Linked DNA regions of Homo sapiens: all the other regions are linked to region 5. The links are contacts of gene promoters, found by promoter capture Hi-C in human tissues and cell types (Jung and others, 2019). All regions are on one chromosome and are shown on one strand. Each heading gives the region's core, a stretch centred on a gene start or on the middle of the fragment in contact. The rest is flanking DNA. Distances are from core to core; before and after follow the strand shown.

Region 1 (3,166 bases), core at 505-3,004, 320 kb before region 5:
TTTAAACATTTTTTTTTTCCAGACAGTCTCCCCCTCTGTCACCCAGGCTGGAGTGCAGTGCATGATCTCAGCTCGCTGCAACCTCCGTGTCCTGGGTTCAAGCAATTCTCGTGCCTCAGCGCCCCCAGTAGCTGGGATTACAGATGCATGCCACCACGCCCAGCTAATTTTTGTATTTTTAGTAGAGACAGGATTTCACTATATTGCCCAGGCTAGTCTCAAACTCCTGACCTTAGGTGATCTGCCTGCCTCGGTCTCCCAAAGTGTTGGGATTATAGGCGTGAGCCACTGTGCCTAGCCAGAAAAAAGCAGTTCTTAGAACTAGCTACCCTTAAGAAGTTTAAGATAGCCAAGCTGGGGGAACACTGTTAGATCCCGTCTCTAAAAAAAATTATTTTAGGCCAGGCGTGGTATAGACTCTGTGTCTCTATATTTTAAAAAGGTTGGTGGTGGGCGGTGGGGGGGATGCAAATAATTTCAAACTTACAGAGGTGTCTTTCTTCCTCCCTCTCTCTCCATACCCTCCCAACCAGATATTTAAAGAACAGAGAGACAAGATGATAACAGCATAATTTGGGAAGCTAAGTGAACCAAGATCTATCAGTTACCAGGCAGTTTACAAAGCTTGCTAAGGATGCATATAGATTTGACAGATAAAAGTTCAAATTGTTGGCTGGGCGCAGTGGCTCACACCTGTAATCCCAGCACTTTGGGAGGCCAAGGCGGGCAGATCACAAGGTCAGGAGATCGAGACCATCCTGGCTAACATGGCGAAACTCCGTCTCTACTAAAAATACAAAAAAATTAGCCAGGCGTGGTGGCAGGCACCTGCAGTCCCAGCTACTCGGGAGGCTGAGGCAGGAGAATGGCGTGAACCCATCGTGCCACTACACCCCAGCCTGGGGGACAGAGCGAGACTCTCAAAAAAAAAAAAAATACAAAAATTATCTGGGCGCAGGCCGGGTGTGGTGGCTCACACCTGTAATCCTAGCATTTTGGGAGGCCAAGGCGGGTGGATCACTAGAGGTCAGGAATTGGAGACCAGCCTGGCCAACACGGTGAAACCCTGTCTCTACTAAAAATACAAAAAAATTAGCTGGGTGTGGTGGCAGGCACCTGTAATCCCAGCTGCTCAGGAAGCTGAGGGAGCAGAATCACTTGGACCCAGGAGGTGGAGGTTGCAGCGAGCCAAGGTCACACCACTACACTCCAGCCTGGGCAACAAGGTGAGACGCCGTCTCAAAAAAAAAAAAGTTCAAATTGCTAGTGAAGATTAAACAGTCATGTTTAGGTGGCTTTCCTTTAGGAGTTAAATCCATTGTTAAAGATAGTATACAAGATGTTTTCACTGCCCTCAAATCTTTTGGTCAATGGGTCTGTTTGACCTCAAAAGATAAGTCATGAAGTCGGCCTGGTGACATTTTATGCCTGCTATATAGACCACCAGGCCCTTCTCAACAAGTCTGAAAATACACATCAAGTCATTTGCAATATGGTCTGGGAATGCCATCAGAATGAGGAAACACAGTATTACCAGGCAGGTTTCAAAAATTACCAAGAGCTCAATTCGGAGTCTTTGTTGTTTGCCTGACTATAAGCAACGAACCAACTAATATGTTAGGCTACTATATGATGAAACGGAGTTGGGGGTGGAGGTTGTGTTTTAGAATCTCAGTCCCAGGCAGGTCTTGCCTGTTAGCTAACACTTTCAGGGCCTGGGGCAAGAGTATGAATGAAGACCCATATATGATGTCTACATATTTAGTTATAAATCACACTAACAAGCTATTAAATGAAGTATATTGTATTATCCTGTCTTGACAAACTCGCCTTCTTCATAACCACCTGGAAGGCCTGGATCAAATTTGAAATTTTCACACTCCTTAGGAGTTCTGTGCCAGATTAAGGCACATCGGGAAAGCTGGCCCCCATCCGTGCCCACTTCTCTTCCCATGCCTGGCTCTGTCCCACAATACTGGTGGCTCTGCACTTGAGTGTAGCTACCCAGCTCATCCTTTCTCACCAAACCCCCACGTCTCTGGCCTAAGCATTCAGACATTGTGACAAGGCCTGCACTGCACAGGCAGAACAGGGAAGCAGCCCACAAAAAGTCCTGAGAAGCTTGGGGTTGTCTGGGCAGGAGATTTCAGGGGTCCCAGGTATCCAGAGTGTGGTCTACAACTGAGGGAAGAAAGCCACAGGTGACAGCCAGAAGTGGGCACAGGACCCCAACCAGGCCAATCAGATTCTCTCTCCTGGGAACTGAAAATGTGAAAGTTGGAATGCAGAGATGCAGATACACATAATGACAATGCTCTAAAGGGAAAGGCCACAAATTCCTAATGCCTCTGGGATTGCCCAGTGGCCCTGGTCTTTACTACTCCTCTCAGATAACAGTAGTTATTCAGTGCTTCTTACACTCCACTTAACAATCCTTTTGGTTCAAACTAACTCATAACAATTAAAAACAAAACAAAACTTAACCAAGCTGCCTAATCTGTAGCAGCAGATGCAAAAGGTGGTACCTGTCTTACCCACTCCACTGGCATTACGCTTATAAAGAAAAAATACACCCGACAATGCCTTCAGGGAATCAGGAGTCTTTCAGGTGAGGCACCCACAGTGTCTGCCAGGGAGTGGCATCCACTATCCACTGGAATGAACCCCTGAAAACAGGTAACTTACATACCTCCTCTCCTCCACTTCCTCAGCTCAAGAATACCTCTGCCTAGAATGCCTGAGCCACTCTTCTCCACCATCCTTCACATACATTTCTGGGCTTAAGGACTTCAATCAACAATCTAGTTAAGACTAATAACAAGGCCGGGTGCGGTGGCTCACACCTATAATCCCAGCACTTTGGGAGGCCAAGGTGGGTAGACCACCTGAGGTCAGGAGTTCGAGACCAGCCTGGCCAACATGGTGAAACCCCGTCTCCACTAAAAATATAAAAATTAGCCGGACATGGTGGCATGTGCCTGTAATCCCAGCTACTTGGGAGGCTGAGACAGGAGAATCGCTTGAACCCAGGAGGCTGAGGTTGCAGTGAGCCGAGATCACAATCAAACCACTGTACTCCAGCCTGGGCAAGAGAGCAAGACTCCGTCTCAAAAAAAAAAAAAAAAAAAAAAAAAGACTTGGCTCATGCCTGTAATCCCAGCACTTT
Region 2 (2,780 bases), core at 148-2,647, 360 kb before region 5:
TTGAGATGGAGTGTCACACTGTTACCCGGGCTGGAGTGCAGTGGTGCGACCTCAGCTCATTGCGACCTCCGCCTCCCAGGTTCAAGTGATTCTCCTGTCTCAGCCTCCCCCAGTAGCTGAGATTACAGGCACCCGCCACCATGCCCGGCTAATTTTTGTAATTTTAGTAGACAGGGTTTCACCACGTTGGCCTGGCTGCTCTCAAACTCCTGACCTCGTGATTCGTCCGCCTCAGCCTCCCAAAATGTTGGGATTACAGGCGTGAGCCACCACGCCTGGCCTTTTTTTCTTCATTTTTATGATTAATACAAACATCATGTGGCAGTTTATGAAATTTGTAGAAACTAGACATTTCTTGCCTGGGGCTGGCAGCTTTCCCCTCGATTCCTGAGGGGTCCTCTGGGTGACTTAATCTCTGCCGTTAGAGGTACAGGGTGGAAAAGTTTGAAGCTTCCGGGACGATTCTACAATTTTGTTTTTATCAATCCAGACCCACCTGCTCCCCCTTGTGACCAAGGCTGCACATTACAGTCAAGAGTATAATTAGCTCAGAATTTAAAGACCACGTGAAATTCATGCAGCAATGTAACTGCTGACCCTGACGCCACTGACTTGCACTAAAGGTGGCGAGACACGGATCCTTTCCGAAATGCAGCCCCTGTCTCACCTCCGGCGGGAGCAGGTGATGCAGGGTTGAGGAACAGAGGCCCTTCTGTAGTGAAGACCACTTTTCTCCCCGACTAACTGCTGCAGGATCAGAATAGGAAAGAGACTGATTTATTGAAACATCACACAATTTACATAAAGAAGAAACACAAGCAAGAGTGGGGTGAACTGGAACGCACTTTGGCTGCATCAAGGCAAACCTGGTCTTCCAATAAAAGCTCTGACCCGTAGCGGCTGTGGCACTTGGGGCATATGAAGCATCACTTTTGACTTCCCTTTATTATTATAATTCTTGCCACTGAAAATAGCCACTATTTAGCTGAATTATCCATTAGACAACTGGAGCCAGAAGCTTCTACACATTCTAGAATGTGAACAATTTAACTCTTGCTGCATCACCCAGAAAAAATGGTGGCAGGAATGGTGAGGGAGAGGAGGAATCTCTTGAGTTAGAGCCTCAGGTCTGAAAAGGCAACTGGTAGGATCATCCCATTCCCTCTCAGAAGCTTCTGAAGTGGAAGAAAAACAAGCAAATCCTAAAGCAAGTAACTTTATTATCATTCCTTTAAAAAGAACCAAGGAAAATTCACAACATATGTGAAACACAAACAGCTGTGGTTTAGGAGGTAAACAAAGGACCAACATAGCCCTGAAATGCAACAGCCTCTGAGTGACTTGAGCCGCATGTGACTGGGGTTCTGTTAAAAGGGCAGGCTCCTCCCTCCTAGCCCTGAAGCCCCAGGAACCTGCCTTGAAAGACAAGCTCTCTAATACTCAACTTGCAGGGTCTCGCCCTAACATCCAAGACTTGGTAGCATCTCCTTTCTCCCAAAACCCAGCTGGAACTCAACTAATCCTAAACGAAAACTCAAGAACAGCACACCAGATGCCACCTGTTGTTTGTCAGGGTCTCAAACTCCAGAGGAAATGCATTTGCCTGTCATGGTTTTCCTCTCTAAGGGCACCTGTCTGAACTTGGAGCTGTGCTTCCACTGGTGCCTCATGGGGCCTGGGCCTACTCTCCACCTGAATTCACACTTTTCTCTATAAGGTATCAGGTGGGGAATAAGTCCAAGAAGGTGACAAGAGGCTCCCGAGCAACAGAGCTTGCTCATTCCTGGCAGGCATCTCCCACAATGCCCCAGAGGGCTGGCGAGGCCGGGACAGCATAAGGACAGAGAAAGGGCAGAGGGGTGCTTGGAAGTGCTCATCACTCAGGGGAGCTGGCAGGCCCGGGATGACAGGCAGCCTGAACAGTGCTGGAACAAAGACAGCCACCCTGCGCCCCTTGTCGAGCAGCTGCTGGTGATGGGAAGCAGCACGTCGGCACCACCTCCTTCGTTGCAGGAAATGTTTTGTATCGGGCCAATGACTTCAGTTTTCCTTGCCTGGAGATGCCTTCATGAAGGAAGGGGACAGGGAATACAGGTGGGCATGCTGCAGTTGGCATCTCTGGGGCTGCCAAATCTTGAGTTCACTTGGGGCCAAGGCACTCCACAATCCCATTCCCCTTCATGCCATCGAAGAAGAAGAAGTTGTTGTGAGGAGGGTCCCGCTGAGACAGGGCCTGGGGAGAAAAATGAAAAGAGGGTTTAGCTCAAGTGCTTTAAGAGGAATAGAGGGAAAAAAAAATTCTAAAAGCAGTCTAGGGCAGTGGTTCTTAACTGGGGTCGATTTTGCTCCCAAAGGGCTATTTGGCAATGTCTGGAGACAATTTTGATTGTCCTATCTCCTTGCTCTGTCCCTTACAAGCTGTGTGTCCATGGGGAGATTATTTAACCTCTCCAAACATTACCTTATTTTCCTAACATGAGATTAAGAAATGTATTTGCCTGGGTTAAACTATGTATCTCAAAAATGTAAAACAGGCCAGGGCCAGGCACATTCACACCTGTAATCCCAGCACTTTGGGAGGCTGAGGTGGGAGAATCACTTGAGCCCAGGAATTCAAGACCAGTCTGTGCAACATGGTGAGATCCCGTCTATATGAAAACTAAAATAGGTGGGGCGCAGTGGCTCACGCCTGTAATCCCAGCACTCTGGGAGGCTGAAGTGGGCGGATCACCTGAGGTTGGGAGTTGGAGACCAGCCTGGCCAACACGGTGAAACCTGTC
Region 3 (2,905 bases), core at 349-2,848, 290 kb before region 5:
TACTCGGGAGATTGAGGCAGGAGAATTGCTTGAACCTGGGAGGCAGAGGTTGCAGTGAGCCAAGATCACGCCATTGCACTCCAGCCTGGGCAACAAGAGCTAAACTCCGTCTCAAAAAAAAAACAAAACAAAACTTAGCCAGGCGTGGTGGTGCGTGCCTGTAATCCCAGCTACTTCAGAGGCTGAGGCAGGAGAATCACTTGAGCCCGGGAAGCGGAGGTTGCAGTGTGCGGAGATTGCGCCATTGCACTCCAGTCTGGGCATCACAGCAAGACTCGTCTCGCAAAAACACACAAACAAACAAACAGCATGTCAGATCATTATTCCTAATTACTGGATACTTGTTAGGTTCAAGCACTATACAAAGCAGTCTGCCCACATTCTCTCTGATCCAGTGTTGTTTGTTTTTGTTTGTTTTTGTTGTTGTTGTTGTTGAAACGGAGTCTCACTCTGTTGCCAAGGCTGGAGTGCAGTGGCATGATCTCGGCTCGTTGCAAGCTCCGCCTCCCAGGTTCACGCCATTCTCTTGCCTCAGCCTCCCGAGTAGCTGGGACCACAGGCGCCCGCCACCAAGCCCTGCTAATTTTTTGTGTCTTTAGTAGTGATGGGGTTTCACCGTGCTAGCCAGGATGGTCTCGATCTCCTGACCTCATGATCTGCCCGCCTCAGCCTCCCAAAGTGCTGGGATTACAGGCATGAGCCACTGTGCCTGGCCTGATCCAGTGTTTTTTAAAGTGATGTCTGTGGACCATCTAAATCATAATCTCCTGAAACACCTTTCATTAATTTATTTCTTTTTAAGGCAAAGTCTCACTCTGTTGCCCAGGCTGGAGTGCAGTGGTGCCATCTCAGCTCACTGCAAACTCCACCTCCCAGATTCAAGCGATTCTTGTGCCTCAGCCTCCCGAGTAGCTGGGATTACAGGTGCACACCAACATGCCTGGCTAATTTTTGTATACTGAGTACAGACAGAGTTTTGCCATGTTGGCCAGGCTAGTCTCAAACTCCTGACCTCAGATGATCCGCCTGCCTCAGCCTTCCAAAGTGTTGGGATTACAGGCATGAGCCACTGCGTCCAGCCCTAAAACACCTTTTAAATGCACATACTCCTGAGCTCGCCTCAGACCTAAATGAGAATCACTAGGGGTGAAAGCTAGGGCACCACGAAGCCTCCAGGCCACTCTGCATTTTCAGTTAGTCACTCAGGTCATTTTTAGGCACAAATTGGAAAAACACTTCTCTACACCTCCTCACAAGCAACCACCAAGGGAGATATTACTAACCCCATTTTACAGGCAGGCAAGCTCAATGAGGGGGTGTGAGTCTCTACTGCTCATCCAGCTAGATGTGGTGGAGCTAGAATTCAAACCCAACAATAGCACCTTCAGTCTCCAGAGGCAATGGTTTATTAATGTTAGCCCTCCTTTCACAGCCCTTAAGGCACAAGGAGGAACTCACAAAATCTGCAGATCTTCATGCTGGAAAGGGGAGCCAGAGCAGGGGAGGAATGAGCTCACAACAGCGCACCTGTTCGTGATCCAGCATGGTCAGTCCTTTCACTCCTGCCAAGATGAGATTCTTGGCAATTTCAGCCCCAAGTCCTTTCAAGCCGACAAGAAGCACCCGAGAGGCCCGCAGCCTGTAAGACAAACATTGTTAACCTGATGATACAGAACAGTGAGCTTGCAGAATCACAGAAGAACAAAAAATACACAAATCATTTTGGTTTGCCAGGCACGGTGGCTCATGCCTGTAATCCCAGCACTTTAGGAGGCTGAGATAGGCGGATCACTTGAGGTCAGGAGTTCGAGACCAGCCTGACCAACACGGTGAAACCCCGTCTCTACTAAAATACAAAAACTAGCTGGGCGTAGTGGCAGGCGCCTGTAATCTCAGCTACTTGGGAGGCTGAGGCAGGAGAATCACTTGAAACCATGAGGCGGAGGTTGCAGTGAGCCGAGATCATGCCACTGCACTTCAACTTGGGCAACAAGAGTGAGACTCCGTCTCAAAAAAAAAAAAATCATTTTGGTTCTAACTGCATTGAGGCATCACACCTCGAATCTAGGAAAGAGACAGGCTCTAATCCATACTGCACAAAACAATTCATTCAACAAATATTTATTGAGTACCAACTATGCCAGGCATCCTTCTATGGTGTGGAAATAAGGCGGTGAATCAGACATAGTCCCTGCCCTCATGAAAAAGTAGGAGACAGATAAACAAATAGATACATAATATGTGAAAAAGTGATGAAAATCAAGTGTGACAAGAATCAAGAATGATGGAGAACGCTATTTGAGACAGAAATCATACAAGCCTTTCTGAGGAGATGCCATATGAGCAAAAATCAAAATGAAATAAAGGACAAACACACAGATATTTGGCAGCAGAACATTCCAGATAGAGAAAACAGCAAATGCAAAAGCCCTGAAGCAGGAGTGCTTGGCATGTTCTAGGGACAGGAATGACAGAGAGGCTGAAAAGTTGGAACAAGGGGCCACATCATGAAGGCTCTTACATGCAATGGAAGGATTCTGGATTTTCTTCGAGGCATGATGGAAAGCCATGGGGGTAGGAAGATGTCACAGTTAAGGTGAGGGAGGATGATGGTGGCTCAAACTAGCATGACAGCAGAAGAGGTGCTGAGAAGAGGCACTAGTTAAGTATAACACACAAGCAAAACACATGGTGGCATGAAAAGAGCATGTACACAGGAATTGCTTTTACCTTTTTTTTTTTTTTTTTAAAGACAGAGTCTCGCTCTGTTGCCCAGGCTGGAGTGCAGTGGCGTGATCTCAGCTCACTACAACCTCCGCCTCCCAGGTCCAAGCAATTCTCCTGCCTCAGCCTCCCGAGTAGCTGGGATTACAGGCGCCTACTGTCACGCCTGGCTAGTTTTTGT
Region 4 (2,819 bases), core at 11-2,510, 380 kb before region 5:
AAGCTGTCACAGGTGTGACTTTGTGACATGTGTGGGTGGTCAGTTTCTTCTATGTCTGATTTGGTTTGTGTCTCTGAATGTCAGTTTCTTTCCTTTATTTTTATTTTTAAGACGGAGTTTGCTCTTGTTGCCCAGGCTAGAGTGCAATGGCACTATCTCGGCTCACTGCAACCTCCGCCTCCCGGGTTCAAGCAGTTCTCCTGCCTCAGCCTCCCAAGTAGCTGGGATTACAGGCATGCGCCACAACGCCCGGCTAATTTTGTATTTTTAGTAGAGATGGGGTTTCATCATGTTGGTCAGGCTGGTCTCGAATTCCTGACCTCAGGCAGTCCACGCACCTTGGCCTCCCAAAGTGCTGGGATTACAGGCATGAGCCACCGTGTCGGGCGAATGTCACTTTCTGATAGTTTTAATGTGTTAGCTGTGAAATTGTGTGAGTGCATTTGTGTATGTCCCTGTGGGAGTGTGATTTGGATTTGGCCGTGTATCCAGGTATCCCTGTAACAGGTGTCTGTGTGTATGTGTGTGTCCCCTGTGCCTATCAGCAAGTTTGTGTTTCCTGATAAGCACTCCGCCTATGTCTGTGTGGTTGCACCACCGTGTGTGTGGTGTGGGTGCCTGTTCGGTAGGGTTGTTTGTGAACACAGTTTGTGGGCCCAGGTGTGATCATCAGTGTGGGTGTTTCTGCAACTGTGTGTGGCCCTGTCATTGTGTCCGTCTGCTTGTCCAGGGGACCCTGTTAGTGAGTCTGTGCATTTCCGTCTGGGTGTGTGTAAGTGTGAGCCCCATCAGTATGTGAGTGTGTGTGCTCATGCCCCTGTCCATGGTGTGGATTTGCGAGACTGTGGCCTTGTGTCTGTGAGTACATCCTCTGGGCTCTGCCTGCACGTGACTTTGTGGACCCTGGAACGCCCGTCGGTCGGTCTGTGTACGCATCGCTGGGGGTGTGGATCTGTGGGTCCCAGTCAGTGTGTGTGTCCGACTGTCCCGGTGTCTGGGCGATCTCCCCACACCCCGCCGCACAGCGCCTGGGTCCTCCTTGCCTTGGGCTAGGCCCTGCCCCGTCCCCCGCTGCAGGGAAACCCCCGGCGCGGAGGTAGGGGGGGGCGCGGCGCGCGCCTGCAAGTCCTGACTTGTCCGCGGCGGGCGGGCGGGGCCGTAGCGTCACGCGGGGGCGGGGCGTGGGACCCGCCGGGCGGGGGCGGGGCGGGGCGGGGCGGGGCGGCTTTGGAGCGGGCCCGGGATCCGCCGGGCGGCCTGAGACGCGGCGCGAGCCACATGCGAGCGGGCGCCTGGCGGCGGCGGCGGCGGCACCAGCGATCCCAGCAGCGGCCACGACGCGGACGCGCCTGCGGCCCGGGGAGCAGCAGCAGCCACAGCCACAGCAGCCGCCACTGCAGTTAGAGCGGCAGCAGCAGCGACAGCCACAGCAGCAGCCGCCGCGGAGAGCGGCGCTCGGCGGGCGCGCCCTCCTGAAGGAAGCCGCCCGCCCCCCACCGCCGCCCCCTCCGGCGTGTTCATGCCCCCGGGGTGAGTGTGCGCGCCCCGAATCCTCTCCGGCGGCGATCGGCCAGGCCGGGTGGACTCCCTGGAGGAGGTGACAGGAGTGCAGGCGGAGAGCAGTGTGGGCGCCCTGCCTCCCCACACCGCGCCTCTCCAAACCCCGCGAGGGACCCTGGGCCAGGGTCGCCGGGTGAGAGGCGGCTCGGCGTTGGGGCGCCGGTCTGGGCGCACAGGTGCCTCGGCGGTCTGGCGGGTTTGTTTACAAACAATGGGGTGCGGGCTCGGCAGCGCCCCCTGGCGGCCAGTGCGGCCCCGGGGAAGAGGGTCGACCCCAGGGGTGCCCCAGCCCCCAAAGTCCGGGAGGGGCGGGGGGGCGGCACGGAGGGGCGGCCACACCCAGGGCGCGCGCCCGCTGGGGGCGGCGACGGGGGGCGGCTCGCGGGCCGTGGAGTCTGCGGCTCCTGCGGGCGGGGGCTGCGCCCCAGCAACAGCCGGTTATTGGCCCCGCGCTCGCCTGGCGGGCGGGGCGGGCGCACGTGGCGGCGGTGGGGGGGGCTGTGACAGCGGAGGGGGGTGTCTGGGACCGCCGTGGGAGCGCGCGTGTGCGGGGTTGTGGATCTGCAGGTGTCTCGCCTGGGTGTGTGCGCGTGTCTGGCTCCGAGTTTGTGCTGGGTTCTGCAGGGAGTGGTGGTGTCGATCCAGAGGAATGTTGGGGTTTCTGACCCGTCGGGGTGTCTGCGTGAGTCCCCGCGCCTGTTTGTGTGGGGTTCTGTCTGTGGGTGCCCTGCTTGTGGGGTGGGTGGACCTGCGTGTGTTGTCGGTGAGAGTTGTCTGTGTGTGCTGTTCCGGGATGATACTGGGGGTCTGTGGTGCCTGCGTGTGCTGGGGTGTGGAGGTTGTAGTGTGTGTGTGTTGCTGGAGTGAGCTGTTTGTGTGTTTATGTGTGTGTCTTGCCCGAGCGTGCGATATGTGTGCTTGTGTCTTGCCTGTGTGTTTCTGTCTTGGCTGAGGCCGTCTCTGTATCTCCGGGGCATGTGTCTTTTGCCCAGCGTTTGTGATGCTGCGCCTGCTAAATGCAAATGTCTGTTTTCTGTCCAGGTGTCTGTGTGAGTTGTCAGGTGTGAGTGTGTGTGTGTATGTATGTGTGTGGTGGGGGGTTGTTTCAGTCTGGGTTTGGCTTGTGTGTCTGGCATCAGCGTCTGGGATTTGAGGACCCAGGATCTGTGGGGTCTATGCAGTGTAGACGGTGGGTGTTGCTGGCAGCCTCTGGATGGGGTTGTGTCTGAGCCTGTGTGTGTGTGTGTGTGTTGGGTCTG
Region 5 (3,145 bases), core at 509-3,008:
CAAAGTGCTGAGATTACTGGAGTGAGCCACCATGCCTGGCATGCTTTGTTCTTATTAGGGCCAATCTCCCCTCAGTACTAATAGTAATAACTTTATTGACTGCTTACCATCTGTCATGTTCTAGGTAATGAAGATACAGTTATCAGACAGGGTCCCTGCCCTCAACAACTCACTACCTAATGAGAGATCTAGACAAACATACACACATACTCATAGGGCAAATAAAATAATTTTTAAAATGTAATAAAGGCCATTTAAAAAATCACGCCTGTAATCTCAATACTTTGGGAGGTGGAGGAGGGAGGATCGCTTGAGCTCAGGAGTTCAAGAGCAGCCTAGGCAACATAGCAAGACCCTGTCTCTACAAAAAGTACAAAAAATTAGCCAGGTGTGACGGCATGTGTATGTAGTCTCAGCTACTCGGGAGGCTGAAGTGGGAGGATCACTTGAGCCCAGCAGGTTGAGGCTTCAGTGAGCTGAGATCATGCCACTGCGCTACAGCCTGGGTGACCAAGGGAGACCCTCTTTCAGAAAAAAGCAAAAACAAAGACACACCAAAAAAACACTAAACTAACTGCTGACCTGGAGGGTTTTTTTTTTTTTTGACAGAGTTTCGCTCTTGTCATTCCAGCTAGGGTGCAATGGTGTGATCTCGGCTCACTGCAACCTCTGCCTCCCAGGTTCAAGCAATTCTCCTGCCTCAGCTTCCCGAGTTGCTGGGATTACAGGCACCTGCCATCACACCCAGCTAATTTTTATATTTTTAGTAGAAATGGTTTCACCGTGTTGGCCATGCTGGTCTCGAAGTCCTGACCTTAGGTGATCCACCCACCTCAGCTTCTCAAAGTGCTGGGATTACAAGCATGGGCCATCATGCCCCCGCCAAACTAGAGATTTTTTTTTTTTTTTGGAGTCTCTCTCTATTGCCCAGGCTGGAGTGCAGTGGCGAGATCTGGGCTCACTGCAACCTCTGCCTCCGGGCTTCAAGTGATTCTCCTGCCTCAGCCTCCCGAGTAGCTGGGACTACAGGTGCGCACCACCATGCCTGGCTAATTTTTTGTATTTTTAGTAGAGATGGGGTTTCGCCATGCTGGCTAGGCTGGTCTCGAACTCCTAACCAAGTGATCTGCCTGCCTCGGACTCCCAAAGTGCTGGGATTACAGGAGTAAGCCACCGCGCCGGGCCGGTTCAAATTTATGCTTTTAAACTGTTGTCTCCCGAGAGACACACGCAACGTATTTTAAGCAAAACACTGGCTTGGTGTTGTGGTGGCTCATGCCTGTAATCCTGGTGATTTGGAAGGCTGAGGGTCGCTTGAAGCTGAGTTCGAGATCAACCTAGGCAATATATCTAGACCCCTGTCTCTATTTTTAAAAAAATTAAAGAAATCACTGGATGAGGAATGGAAAGACATTTTCTATCTCCCCAGGACAGTTTTTTAAAATTTAAAACTACTATTCCCAGCATGCCCTTCTCCCCTGGGTGGGGGGAGGGGACCTAAGAGAACTACATTTCCCTGAATGCAACGCCTTCACCGCTGGTTCTTCAGCATCTCGGGAATTGTAGTCCTCTGTAAAGATGTTTGTCCACAAATCCCAGCATGCACTTGGGATCTGACTCGTTTGGTAGGAAAAGGACTGGCTCTGACTCTTCACCCATCTTCACCCAGGCTGGCCCCTTTGGTGAAACTACAACTCCCAGGGGTCTGTGCGCGAGAAGGCAGGCGGGTTTTTCTACCGGAAGTCCGCTCTAGCTCTGGGCCCTACAACTGCACCCTGAGCCGGAGCTGCCCAGTCGCCGCGGGACCGGGGCCGCTGGGGTCTGGACGGGGGTCGCCATGGTAACGGGGGAGCGCTACGCCGGGGACTGGCGGAGGGGGGGCCCACGCGTAAATAGCCGAGGCTGGATCGGGCGCTGACAAGTCCCTTCTCTGCCGCGGATGGTCTGGGTCAGGCGCGGGCTCTGGGGATTGGGACCGATCCAGGGCCGGGAAGGAGGGCACAGGGCGGTGATTCTGCGCGCGGGGGTTACCAGGGGTCTCGCGGCGACGGGCATTGGGGGTGGTGTTCCAAGGGGAAAGGGCTGTGCAGGTGGGAAACGTTGTAGATGGTTGGAAGCTTTGAAACGAGAGGAAACTCGTGAGACACAGTCTTGTGGGTAGCGAGAAGGCATTGGAGGTGGGGAGAGGGCGTCCGAAAGAGGAAGGCGCTCTGGAAGTGTGGCGGGAGCGCTGGGACGAGAACGCGAGACCTTGGAAAAGGGGAGGGAGGTTTTCTTGATGGGAGGAGTCTCTAGAGACAAGGATCTGATTGCAGGTGGAGAGGGGATGTTGAGACAGGGGCAGGAGACTGCCTGTGAGAGAGGGATGATCTCAAGAAGAGACCTGGCACAGGAAACCAAAAGGAGGCAACTGTAGGGAATGAAACTTAAGGGTCTGGGAAAGCGCTGTAAAAGGAGAGAGGACCTGGAGGTAAGATGGACACTCGGAAAGAATGGGGAGCAACTGAATAGGTCTTTCCAAGAGGAGAGATCTTGTGGGGTGGGGAGTAGGCTTGAAAGTGTGAGACCTGGGGAGGAATCTTTGTTGGGGCAAAGACTCAACATTGGATTTAGGAGTGCCCCTATCCCCCAGGTTGGGGCTTTGGATCTAGGAAAGGGTTCTTTGGGCTGGAAGTTGGGAAAGAAAACGAATGAGAAAGAGTGTCAGAGCGGGGGCGGAGTCTCCTCCAGGAACAGGGTCCTTGGAGGCAAAATGTGACCTTTTGAAGAAGGGAGGAAGCTTGGGAGTGGGACAAGGGATGTCACCAGTAAAAAGCCCATTGAGGCCCCAAGGAGGGGAACTGAGACTGAGAAAGTGGAGGTCAAAAGGGAACAACTCCAGAGGAGGGGGATTGGAGACAGGGAAGGTTGGGGGGCATCTAGAGGGGACAGCAGAGGCGTGAGGATGCAGAGATTCAGGACGGAGGGGACTTGAGATTCCAAATGGGAAGAAAACAGGGAGAGGTATACAAGGGAATTTGGGAGTAAGAGGCAGAGCTTTTTGTCAACTCTGTGGGTTTGCTTCTAGTTCTCCTAACTGTGTGAATATGTCTCCGGCTCTGCTCCCAGGCTGTGGCTGCCTGGTGTAGGCCCCCCAACGTCCCTT

What was found. The method cuts DNA at HindIII sites, captures the fragments that hold promoters and counts their contacts. A contact is called where the count stands out against the background at its distance.
Region 1: a contact is called between a fragment that was not itself captured here and the fragment with the promoter of AP2S1 in region 5, in 2 of the 25 tissues and cell types used here (hippocampus and spleen).
Region 2: a contact is called between a fragment that was not itself captured here and the fragment with the promoter of AP2S1 in region 5, in 4 of the 25 tissues and cell types used here (dorsolateral prefrontal cortex, hippocampus, psoas muscle and 1 more).
Region 3: a contact is called between a fragment that was not itself captured here and the fragment with the promoter of AP2S1 in region 5, in 1 of the 25 tissues and cell types used here (dorsolateral prefrontal cortex).
Region 4: the fragment with the promoter of BBC3 here is called in contact with the fragment with the promoter of AP2S1 in region 5 in 4 of the 25 tissues and cell types used here (adrenal gland, dorsolateral prefrontal cortex, small bowel and 1 more).

What each region holds. Positions count from the first base shown.
Region 1 is chr19:47,165,045-47,168,210 of GRCh38, reverse strand. The region is part of intron 5 of SAE1 (SUMO1 activating enzyme subunit 1); the gene reads right to left. Among named protein-coding and RNA genes, the nearest start is that of SAE1, 36 kb to the right of the region's middle. The HindIII fragment of the contact is 4,260 bases long and covers 1-3,166 here.
Region 2 is chr19:47,208,612-47,211,391 of GRCh38, reverse strand. SAE1 (SUMO1 activating enzyme subunit 1) reads right to left here. Exons shown (of 9, transcript NM_005500.3): 9 at 756-2,233. The coding sequence ends at 2,141. Among named protein-coding and RNA genes, the nearest start is that of MIR3190, 17 kb to the left of the region's middle. RefSeq lists enhancers at 366-660, 1,652-2,401. The HindIII fragment of the contact is 3,338 bases long and covers 1-2,780 here.
Region 3 is chr19:47,142,228-47,145,132 of GRCh38, reverse strand. SAE1 (SUMO1 activating enzyme subunit 1) reads right to left here. Exons shown (of 9, transcript NM_005500.3): 2 at 1,528-1,639. Among named protein-coding and RNA genes, the nearest start is that of SAE1, 13 kb to the right of the region's middle. The HindIII fragment of the contact is 6,241 bases long and covers 1-2,905 here.
Region 4 is chr19:47,229,640-47,232,458 of GRCh38, reverse strand. BBC3 (BCL2 binding component 3) reads left to right here and starts at 1,260. Exons shown (of 4, transcript NM_014417.5): 1 at 1,260-1,530. RefSeq lists enhancers at 1-43, 753-872 and silencers at 1,013-1,242, 1,383-2,102. The HindIII fragment of the contact is 48,720 bases long and covers 1-2,819 here.
Region 5 is chr19:46,849,459-46,852,603 of GRCh38, reverse strand. It overlaps AP2S1 (adaptor related protein complex 2 subunit sigma 1), which reads left to right and starts at 1,758. Exons shown (of 5, transcript NM_004069.6): 1 at 1,758-1,840. The coding sequence starts at 1,838. RefSeq lists an enhancer at 1,434-1,743. The HindIII fragment of the contact is 18,087 bases long and covers 1-2,448 here.